4 separate regions of the Homo sapiens genome follow, and regions 2, 3 and 4 are each linked to region 1. The links are contacts of gene promoters, found by promoter capture Hi-C in human tissues and cell types (Jung and others, 2019). All regions are on one chromosome and are shown on one strand. Each heading gives the region's core, a stretch centred on a gene start or on the middle of the fragment in contact. The rest is flanking DNA. Distances are from core to core; before and after follow the strand shown.

Region 1 (2,700 bases), core at 147-2,646:
TGAGGTCAGGAGTTCGAGACCAGCTTGGCCAACATGGTGAATTAGTGAGGCATGGTGATGTGCCCCTGTAATCTCAGCTACGCGGGAGGCTGAGGCGGGAGAATCACTTGAACCCAGGAAGCGGAGTTTGGTTGCAATGAGCCGAGATCGCGCCATTGTGCTCCAGCTTGGGCGACAGAGTGACACTGTCTCAAAAAAAACAAAAAACAGTCTGGGAGAGGTGGCTAACGCCTGTCATCCCAGCACTTTGGGAGGCCGATGTGGGCGGATCATCTGAAATAGGGAATTCGAGACCAGCCTGACCAACATGGAAAAACCCTGTCTCTACAAGAAACACAAAATTAGCCAGGAGTGGTGGCACATGCCTGTAATCCCAGCTACTCGGGAGGCTGAGGCAGGAGAATCGCTTGAACCCGGGAGGCAGAGGTTGCGGTGAGCTGAGATCGTGCCATTGCACTCCGGCCTGGGCAACAAGAGCGAAACTCCATCTCAAAAACAAATAGAAACAAAAACACAACAAAAACCTTATTACAATCCTGTGAACTAGCTACTGTCATTACTATAATGTAGATGAACAAACTGGGACATGGACAGTTGACAAAACATTCCCAACCACACACTAGGAATGAGCTGGGATAGGAAACCAGGCACTCTGGCTCTATTACTCCTAATGCCATACACACGAGCTGACTTAGGAGAAAACAGAAAGTACTGTTCGCACAATACTAACTGGTTCTACCGCCACTGTTCGCTTGCATTTGTTTTTTCCTTCTTGTTAGGAACACGTATCTTTGAAGGAGGTATCATTTCTCCCACAATTCTCCATTTAACGTTTCCTACAGTGTTAAGCACCACCGAGGCCTCTCATAGCCCCAGAGAAGAAGTAATTTGCTTCCTAGAAATCCTCACTGTATCCAGATTCCCTCCCAGAGGAGCCATCAGTTCTCATGGGTGGCACTTTTTCTCCAGCTGATTACACTTTTTTTCTGTACCAGTTAATTTTTCCAACTTCTAATTGAATAAAGGCAGTTTTCTTAAAAAAAAAAAAAAGAGAAAGAAAAACGGAAAGGAAGGAAGAGGAAAGGAAGGAAGAAATGAAGAAAGGAAGGAAGGAAAGAAAGGAGAGGGACAGAAAGAAAAAAAGGAAAGAGAGAAAGAAAGGAAAGGAAAGTAAGAAATGGAAGGGACCTGCAGAAACGATTCACCACGCGCGGCTGACCCTGGGAGGAGCCACAGGTTGAACCAGCGCCTCCCAGGCTGGACGCCCGCCGCGGACACCGCAGACAGTCCCACCCCCAGCGGCGACAGCAACTCTCTGAATTCCGGAAAGAACCTTTTCCAGCGGGACCGGAAGCCCGGCGGGGACCGTAGCGGGGACGGACTGACCTACCGACCATTCTTCCGGGTCCAGAAGGTGATCTCCGCCCGTGCTCAGAATCCAGGGGCCCGGGGCTGTAGGTAGGAGTTAAGTGGGTAGGATCCCTTAACCAGGGTTGTCCGGTGCAGGTGGTGTGTGTTGTTTCGCCTAACGTGTCAGTGGCACAAATCACGCGAACTTCATAAACATTGTGCGTTCGGAAGCCTTTCCAAGATGCATTTAATCCCTGCGTGAGCCCACGTTAGGCATTCACGAAGGCATGTGCACTGTTCTCTCGGAAGCGGCTGGCCGGCTTCCCCTCCTCGCGCGCGGCTGTGGGTGCAGGTCCTCACTTCCCAGCCTCCCATGGGCCCAAGGCCTTCTGGGCTCCAATTTGAGGCGAGCCACCCCAGATCCGTAATTTTTCTGCAGTGATTTATTTTTACCTTTCTGGTAAGTTCCAAAGCTTCCAGCTCACATTCAGACGTTTTCCCTAACGCAACTACGTATTTGCAACATACTTTTTTCAGATTCCTTGACAAGGATATCCTAGCGGCGAAACAACACCGTACTGGGAGTCAGAACGTCTGGGTTCTAGTCTTGACTGCCATTAACTAGCGGTATGACATTGGAGAAGCTTTTTTGACCCTTCTGGATTTCCGTTTCCTTTTCTGTAAAATGAGGAGCTTGGAGTAAGTGACAAGTTTCCTTCCAGTTTTGACATTTGGGTTATTGCCTCCAATGTGTCTTTCCAGTTCCTGCCTCAATTACATATCTGTGCTTTGGTTAATATCTCGTAGGGTCCTTCCTCCCACTCCATTAATCTGTGCTCTTCTCAAATCTGGTTTCATACTGATTTAAAAATTATTTTCTCAAGGAATCCTGTGTTACCTGAGCACTCTACTTCTTGGTCCAGGGGCACAAACGTAAATAAGATATTTTCCATGTGCCATTCTTAGAAGTATTTAATGTGTGTAAATACTATTGAATGAATTTCCAAATCTTCTTTTTTTTTTCTTTAGACAGAGTCTCACTGTCGCCCAGGCTGGAGTGCAGTGGCCTGATCTCGGCTCACTGCAGTCTCTGCCTCCTGGGTTCAAGCGATTCTCCTGCCTCAGCCTCCCAAGTCGCTGGGATTACAGGCGCCCGCCACCGTACCCGGCTAATTTTTGTACTTTTAGTAGAGAGGGGGTTTCACCATGTTGGCCAGGCTGGTCTCGAACTCCTGACCTCAGGTGATCCGCCCGCCTCGACCTCCCAAAGTGCTAGGATTACAGGCATGAGCCATCACGCCCAGCCTGAATTTCTAAATCTTAATGTGTTTATTTCGTTGGCATTAAGTT
Region 2 (2,700 bases), core at 81-2,580, 290 kb after region 1:
ATCCGTGTGCCTGGTCCAAGTTTCCTGGTGGTTGACTTGGGCGAATAAAAATAAGACATGTTCTGCAGAGTTCTCCTTTTAAATTCTTGTGTAATATTCCGTTTGTTTTGCTCCTTTGCAATTAACTACAAACTTCTAAGTCCTAGAAAAGATTTCAAGTATTTATAGAGTGAGCAACGATCATTTTCCTAGTCAAATAGTATGGCAAAAATCACTGTTTTAAAAAGTTGTGGCATTAAACTATAAATCCTCCCTCCCCTCGCTTCCCACCCGCAATTATGAAAGAAAAGCATATGACAATGCCTACTGGGCTCAGCTTTTGGGCTAATTGAGTCTGACTGAGCCTTCTTAGCAGGTTCCTGTCTTTTGAAACCTCAAATCCCAAAAAGCTGTCTAATAATTTTACTTTTTTAGGGACTAAGACCAGGTATTTTCAGCAGAGGTTCTTACTTTTCTGTAATTGAGGCGCAACTATAATGTTCCAGAACACAATCTTAAATCTGAAAGTGAGAGGAAGAAAAAAAAAAAAACGGCCTGAGCTCCAGAAATAGCTGACCCAGAAGAACACTAAAATCTAGCTCTCAGGCTCATAGGCAGCTGTTAACATTCACATTTTGACAGCTTCCTTTCAGGTTTCTTGAGCTCTCAGAAAAATTAGAAGGAAGTGGGCTGGGGATATAGAGAGAGTCCAAACTACCAACTAATGAATGAATCTGAAGGAGACACAGAAGGGCAAGTAGAGTTTAGAGTTTGAGAGTGCAGGAAAGTTTTGAAATGGTCAGAACTGCCAGAGTAATTTCTGAGATCTTACTAAGCACTCTCCCACCGTTTGCCTTAAAGATACCCCTTCCCCCAAATTGAAACATCACAAATCTGCAGAGCTCTTTAATCAGGTGTGTTATACACAGTGAATTTAATTCTCTTATTGCCCTGGAAGAAAGATAAACCAGATGTGGCCCTTGCCCCTTTTCAGTAAGTATTTGTTAGATCTTCATTACATTTTAGGCCTCCTTCCTCCAGTCTCGATACTGTGCAATGGAGAGATAAGCTTTGACCTCTTCAGTTAATAAGTATTGGCTATAATGTTGCAAAGTATTTGCCATGGAATCGTGTAGAATTTGTTAAGTCCAAAATGAGAGCAGCCTGTTTGCTTCTTTAAAGTGTTTATTGACCTTATTCCTGCCATGTTACAAATCCATCATTTGTGGTGGATTCCCATTAATAATGGTTACTCTCTAGGTTAGTTCTTGCTGCCACCCCTTTCTCTCCTGGTGGTGTGTTCCCTGAATACACTTAACCACTATTTCTGTTTTGGGCCGCCGAAGTATTCAGTTTTCTCAACATAGCTGCAACATTTAAAAATTATATGATAGCACACAAAAGTGTACATTTCTGGCAACACTGGCCTGGAATATTTGCATGGCCACAGCGTATGGAGCAGGGTTGTAAGTGCCCCTTTGAGAGGAAGAATGCATATCACTGTGTGCCTCAGTTCTCTCCCAGCCTCTCACATACATGTATGTCACCTGCCTGGCCCTAAGGACATTTGAGACCTCCCTGTGTTCTTCTCTTTGTCTTGGGATAGCCTGGCTTTTAGGAAGTGTTCTCAAAGAGGCAAGTGACATTTGAGCCCCTACAGTGGCTCAGGTGTGAAGTCTTGGGCTTTTCCCCTGTGGACTTGGAGTGAAGCCTTGTCAGTGACTGTAATGACCAAATGAGGAGTTATTTTAGCTTGTGTTTGTTACTATCTTCTGTCATGTTAAGGGCATCTTCGTTGCTAGAGTAATTTCTTCTAAAATATGGAAGGTCAACACTTTTCCCTTTAGACTTGTGGATAGTGATGGATAAAAATAACTCTCTTACTCTATAGTAAACTTGCTCAAGTGCAAAAGTTATATTTAGCTTCAGCAATAGGAGTCTATAAAACTGTGAGAGAAAAGCCTTACTAACTGAAGTCATCCTTCAAACCTTTCTACCAGGGGTTCCAATAGCAATTGCTAAGAATACGGCAGCTTAAAAAAATTTTTTTTCAATTGACAGATATTAAGAATGCCTGATATTTACTGACTTGAACATTAGTTAAATTCAGTTAGGGTGACCAGAGTGTTGCTATTTGTAGAACTGTTGCTTGGTAGAGTCATCCAAAGTGTCTTCCTAAGCTGTAATAAATATGCTTACTAATGTTTGACTGCTTAATTAATGGTCAGTAAGCATTCAGTCAGAGTTCGTTTAATACATGGAGAAAGATATATGCTTTAGATCAAGGGTTAGCAAACCACTGCTTGTTTGGGCCACGGCCTGTTTTTGTATAGTGTGGGAGCTAAGAGTGGGTGGTGTACATTTTTAAAGGGTTATGACAACGACACAGAATAATATGAGACACAAACCCTATGTGGCCCATAAAACCTAAAATTCTACTGTCTGGCTCTTCACAGAGAAAGTTTGCTGATCCCCGCTTTAGATAATGGGGGTGCTCTACTACTCCCCTTTTCATTTATAGTGTTACATAAGCCTAAATAATCACTGTAGCTGGTGGCATCATGTTTGTTACCTACTAAGTAGGTCAAAGTGATTGCCAGACATACACATGAAGGCCTTGAATTAGAAAGCAAAGGAACTGATGATGACCAATGTTTAACAAAATTCAGACTGACTTTGTGCCTGATCCTTCAAAGGCTAGAGGTGATATTTTTGGTACCT
Region 3 (2,700 bases), core at 39-2,538, 410 kb after region 1:
ATGAGATCCCCTTCTGGGGTTACAAATTTTCATTGCTCCCTGCTTACCGACCTGGCGATCATAATTGATTTGAGCTTCTTGCTCAATATCAGAGTCCAGTTCGGGCACATCAGATAAATCTGAATCAGATTCTTCACTGTAGGAATCAGCTCCACCTTCTGCAGAGATACAACCCACAAGAAACAAGCAAAAATTCTGAGACTCTGAGCAACTGAAATTATCTAAAATATTTTTCCTTTTATCCTAGCAAAGTAAATAAAAACTATACCATAGTTTTCATTTAATATAAATTGTTAAAACATCTTTCTTTCACCTTTTGGTTTAGTTCAGCCCACCCTTCACTCCTTTCAGGAACATTAACAGACTAGGCCAACTTCCTTCCCCACACCACCCACCAGGCAGACTAAACTCATTTATACTTTTTTTGAGACAGGGTCTGTCTCCTAGGCTGGAACGCAGTGGCACAATCTCAGCTCACTACAACCTCCTCCTCCGGGGCTCAAGCAATCCTCCCACCTCAGCCTCCTGGCAGCTGGGACTACAGAGATGCGTACCACCATGCCCAGTTAATTTTTAAATTTTATTTGTAGGGACAGGGTTTCACCACATTGCCTAGGTTGGTCATTTACACATTTCTATTAGATAGCAGATACCTGGGTTTTAAGCTTTGTTTTGTAAAATGGGCAGGTTTTAAAAAGTGAAAGGCTAGGGCAAAAATAAACCCAACCATTTACTTCAATACAGATCCTCTTTAGCCTTTTAACCATGCCCACCCAAGTGTTGGTAATTGTCATGGCCCAAACCACCACAGAACTCTTGTCAACATTTATTCAAATAATTTTTCATTTTATCACCTGCTCATGCCTGCTGACATCAGAGATAAATGAAAAGACTACATACATGTCCACTGAATTGGAACACATAGGCCCCAACCGTGAACCACTGCTTGAGCCCCATTCTGAAGGCCACTTACATTTCAAAGGTTACCCTGTTCCCCTGCAGCCTGACTGAACAGACCCACTGCCTGTTACAATTGTCCTAAGGAAGCTGAAATGTATCCTCTCCTGTTATCCCCCAAGGGTTAATTCTTCACGTAAACCTTAGACCTTCAACTTGCATTTGGGAAATCTGCTGATGGTTTTATAGAGGTTTCCTTATGTGTGATGATTCTCTTTTCCCTGACTACTTATAATGCTCTGCCTTTAACTTTTGATCATTTAAGATGTTTCTTGGGGTACATCTTTTTGGATTCATCTTACTCGTGTCCTTTGCGCTTCCTAGATTTGGCTTTATTTTCTTTCCTAGGCTTGGGAATTTTTCTGCCATTATTTCCTTGAACATGTTTTCTGCCCATTTCTCTCTCTTCTCTTTTTGGCATGTTGGTAACACGTAAGTTGTTGGACCACCCTAAGTCTCTAAGCTATCTTTACTCTTTTTCTTTTTGTTTCTCAGATTGGATGGTTCCCAGTAATCTGTCTTTCCAAGTTCACTGTTCCTTTCTTCTGCTTAATCTAGTCTGCTGTTGAACCTCTCTATTGAATTTTTCAGTTCAGTGGCAGTACTCTTCAGAGAAAGTTTTTTTTTTTTTTTTTTTTTTTTTTTAGAGATGGAGTCATGTTATGTCACCCAGGCTGGAGTGCGGTGGCACAATCGTGGCTCACTGCAACCTTCACCTCCCGGTTCAAGCAATTCTCCTGCCTCAGCCTCCCCTGTAGCTGGGATTACAGATGTGCTCCACCTTGCCTGGCTAATTTTTGTATTTTTAGTAGAGACAGGGTGTTTCACCATGTTGGCCAGGCTGGTGTTCAAACTCCTAACCTCAAGTGATCCACCCGCCTTAGCCTCCCAAAGTGCTGGGATTACAGTCATGAGTCAACGTGCTCAGCCAATCCTCAGAGAAAGTATTTCAAAAGTACCAAAACTCATTGAGTAGTTTTAAAAAACACCTTCTATCTCTAAAGTTCTCAATTTGTTCTTATATTGCTCTCTTGACCTCAGTGAGGGTCTTTATGACTATTATTTTGAATTCCCTGTTGGGTAAATCACATATCTCTACTTAACTGGGGTTGCTTTCTGGAGATGTCTTGCTCGTTTATCTGGAATTTCATTTCTTCATTGTCACTGACACTGTGTGTTGGTTTCTGTGCATTAGATTAAAAAAAAAAAAAAAACAAAAAACCTCTCCCTATCTCGTCAGACTGGCCTTGTATAGGAGAAGGATCTCACCAATCTGACTGGCCAATGGTTTTAAGGTGCCTCTCAAATCTGTGTTTGTCCAGACTATTGTCTGTTTTGGTGGCCCCTAGAGCTTAAGATGTGCCATGTCCTGTTGGTACCGCAAGACTGTAAAGGGGGGAAGACATCAAGACACTTTTGATGTAGCTAGAAGGGTTGGAGGGTGGACTATGTGTTTCAATTCCTTCTATCTTCACAGTGAAGCTGAGCACAGTCATTTACCGCTCACTTTTTCTGCACTAAGCCAGGTAGAGAATCTGTGACAAATGCCTGTACTCACATTTAGGCTGTACCCTCTGATCCTGGGGAGATAACTCCTGAAGTGGGCCCATTGTACCTCTACCTCTTCATTTTCTGTGGTTTAAGTCCACTCAGGAATGCGAAGCCCCATCAATTTCCAGAGCTAGTTCATTAAGGAGACAGGTGGGAGCTATAGAAGGTGTGGCACTTGGTGTATGACCAAAC
Region 4 (2,806 bases), core at 52-2,551, 370 kb after region 1:
TAATCCCAGCACTTTGGAAGGTCGAGGCAGGTGGAACTCTTGAGCCCAGGAGTTCGAGACCAGTCTGGGCCACATTCCGTAGGTTAAAAATTAGTTGAAAAGTTATTTTTTGTAGAGGCGAAACCCACCCTGTACAAAAAGTAAAGAAATAAGCTAGGTGCAGTGGCTTATGCCTGTAATCCCAGCACCTTGGGAGGCCAAGGCAGGTGGATTGCTTGAGCCCTGGAGTTCAAGACCAGCCTGGGCAACGCAGCAAAATCCCATCTCTACAAAAAATACAAAAATTAGCCAGGAATAGTGGCACATGCCTGTAATTCCAACTACTCAGGAGGCAAGGTGGAAGGATCACTTGAGCTTTGGAGGTGGAGGGTGCAGTGAGCAGTGATCATGCCATGGCACTCCAGACTGGATGACAGAGGGAGACCCTGTCTCAAGAAAATAAAATTAAGTATCTCTTCTCCCCAAGTCCAAGGAAAAAGATCATAATATCAAAAATACATTTTCAACTTCCATGAGGTTTATTCATTCATTTATGAGTATTTAAATACCTGGGGTTTCCAAAAAATAAGTGGGGTAAATGGAGAAAAGGAGTATAGGGTTAATAGGACCAGTATCTTTGCTTCGAAGAAAAGAGGTAATATTTAAGAATAGGAGTTCTATAATAAAATTTCCAGAAACCATTTTTTTTAAATATTAAGCCTTACATACAACTTGCTTTAGAGGACCTCATTCTTTTAGTTGCTCCAATTCTCTGATCCACGGATTGTAATGTATAACTCTAGAGGTGAAAGATGTTGTTCTTGCCTCTTCTGTCACGCGAAGAATGGAATCTGAACATTCTCCCAAGGGGTTTCTGGAAAACTAATTGGCACTAGGGTGATGGTGCTCCATGAACCATGTTCTCTACTCCTTTGTAGGGTCACAAAGACATTTCTGAATCAGGAGCATGGACTTTGCAAAGGTATGTCTAAAAGGAAACTGATTCAAGAACATGCCTACCCTCTGCCACCATTCTTATTGTCGAGCGTTGTAAGCACACCCCAGGGATAGGACAGCCAGGTGGCCTTGTGCCAGGGCATTTAATACCGAGCCTCTTTACCAACTCCTCTGTTCATGGTATGCTGAAAGCTGTGTTCATGCTCAAAACTGACGTGCCAGTACTGAGACAATGAAAATACAAGCCTGCCCTTGAAGAGCATCATCAAGATTAGGTTAATCACAATCTATCGTACAGACCAAGACACGTTTGAGAGTGAAAAGGAAAGCTATTAATAATTATACCAGAACAACAGGGGTAAACTGGGTTGAATGGTTATCCTATCTAAGATGGGTCAATAGTTGTTCAACTAATTTTTAACTTAGAGAATAAAGTCCATTCACTGACATTCAAGTCCTTCACAGTGAGGACTTGGCCTATCATTCCCCCGATATAAACTAGTAGCCAAAATGATTCTAGCCTGTAGTGATTACGAGCATGGGCTTTGGACTTAGATTTGGGAAATCCTGCCTCCACCATTTACCAATCCCCAGGAGCCTAGTGTAAAGACAGGCAACACGGCAGAGGGAAATAGTGTTAAGCAGTGGCCACAGGTGTGTTCTCACAGTCACACTGCATGGGTTTGAATTTGGTTCCATTACCTACTAAATGTGCAAACTAATTAAGCTTCCTGTGCCTCAGTTTTCTGATTTGTAAGTGGCAATAATAATAGCCTTACTCATGGGGTTCCTACAAAGACTACATGGAAAGAGCTGGCATAGTTGTTGGCTCAGCCATATTAGCCACCATCACTATTGTTACTACTGTTTTGACACCTTTCTTCATTTTATTACCCTAGAATACAATCCTCATGTCTGCTTATAAAATTACTCAGTACAAATATTTTAGGGTCAGACCTCAATTTCATCCTTCCCTCTTAAGAACTTTTACAGATCCTTCAAGCCTCAGCTCGTCACCTCTCTGATGAAGCATTTCCAAGCAGTAGATGTCCTCTGAGGCTCCAGGGTACTTTGTGCCAAATATCTTTAGTTTGTCCTTTCACATCCCCTTTTTGCCCTTGTCCACCCTGCTCTGTGCCTGAAGCTGGTCTGCATGGAGAGCATCAATGGGCTCCCTTGTCCTCTGGTTTCAGGTTGACTTTGGCCAACGGGGAGCACTGGTGGGAAATTAGAGAGATGGAGGAAGAATAGGGAGGCCGGGCCATTTATTTCCCTGGCTGCCTCCCGCAGGGTCACTGCATGCTGGCAGAGTCCCCTGCTATCAGTCGTGGCTTCTCTCAGGCTGCCATCTCATGTGGCTCTCATATTCAAGGTTGCAGCAATTGTCCTCTCCTCCTGTCCCTTCAAGCCCAGGGCCAGTGAGAGCAGCCGCCATTACTAGCTGCATAGTGCTGCACTATCCCTGGTCATTTCCTCATACCTTCCCCATCCCTTTATATAAATAGTCCCATTTTAAAGACTCTCCTCGAATTACCCAATTTGAATGGATATGTTGCTGAGACTCTGTTCAAGTCCTGTCTATCTCTGACACTAGAGATGGGACCATTCATCATGGGATCCCCTGTGCCTGCCACACAGAAGCTACTTAATAAATGTTTGCTGAATTTGTACCTCTCAGTACACCTCATAGTTCTAGTGCATTTAGGTGTTCAAGACATATTTACTCATTTCTTAAGTATTATATTTCTATATAATTGATGTTTGTTTTCAAGTCATAAAATAAGTTCTGGAGACTGTTACAAAATAAATAGCATTCTTTAAAAGCTGATGAATTTCAATTGACTCCCACAGCTCTCAATGAGAAGAGGAA

The links. Contacts are between HindIII fragments. The study calls those that stand out against the background at their distance.
Region 2: a contact is called between a fragment that was not itself captured here and the fragment with the promoter of MTIF2 in region 1, in 2 of the 25 tissues and cell types used here (H1 embryonic stem cells and hippocampus).
Region 3: a fragment that was not itself captured here is called in contact with the fragment with the promoter of MTIF2 in region 1 in 1 of the 25 tissues and cell types used here (IMR-90 fibroblasts).
Region 4: a fragment that was not itself captured here is called in contact with the fragment with the promoter of MTIF2 in region 1 in 1 of the 25 tissues and cell types used here (lymphoblastoid cells).

Annotation. Positions count from the first base shown.
Region 1 is chr2:55,267,927-55,270,626 of GRCh38, reverse strand. MTIF2 (mitochondrial translational initiation factor 2) reads left to right here and starts at 1,396. Exons shown (of 16, transcript NM_002453.3): 1 at 1,396-1,458; 2 at 1,888-2,049. RefSeq lists enhancers at 535-1,358, 1,304-1,453. The HindIII fragment of the contact is 5,929 bases long and covers 1-2,422 here.
Region 2 is chr2:54,975,237-54,977,936 of GRCh38, reverse strand. All of the region lies in intron 5 of RTN4 (reticulon 4), which reads left to right. Among named protein-coding and RNA genes, the nearest start is that of RTN4, 74 kb to the left of the region's middle. The HindIII fragment of the contact is 8,425 bases long and covers 1-2,700 here.
Region 3 is chr2:54,861,241-54,863,940 of GRCh38, reverse strand. EML6 (EMAP like 6) reads right to left here. Exons shown (of 42, transcript NM_001039753.4): 13 at 52-158. Among named protein-coding and RNA genes, the nearest start is that of EML6-AS1, 110 kb to the right of the region's middle. The HindIII fragment of the contact is 3,975 bases long and covers 1-2,700 here.
Region 4 is chr2:54,900,044-54,902,849 of GRCh38, reverse strand. The region is part of intron 22 of EML6 (EMAP like 6); the gene reads right to left. Among named protein-coding and RNA genes, the nearest start is that of RTN4, 150 kb to the left of the region's middle. The HindIII fragment of the contact is 4,274 bases long and covers 1-2,806 here.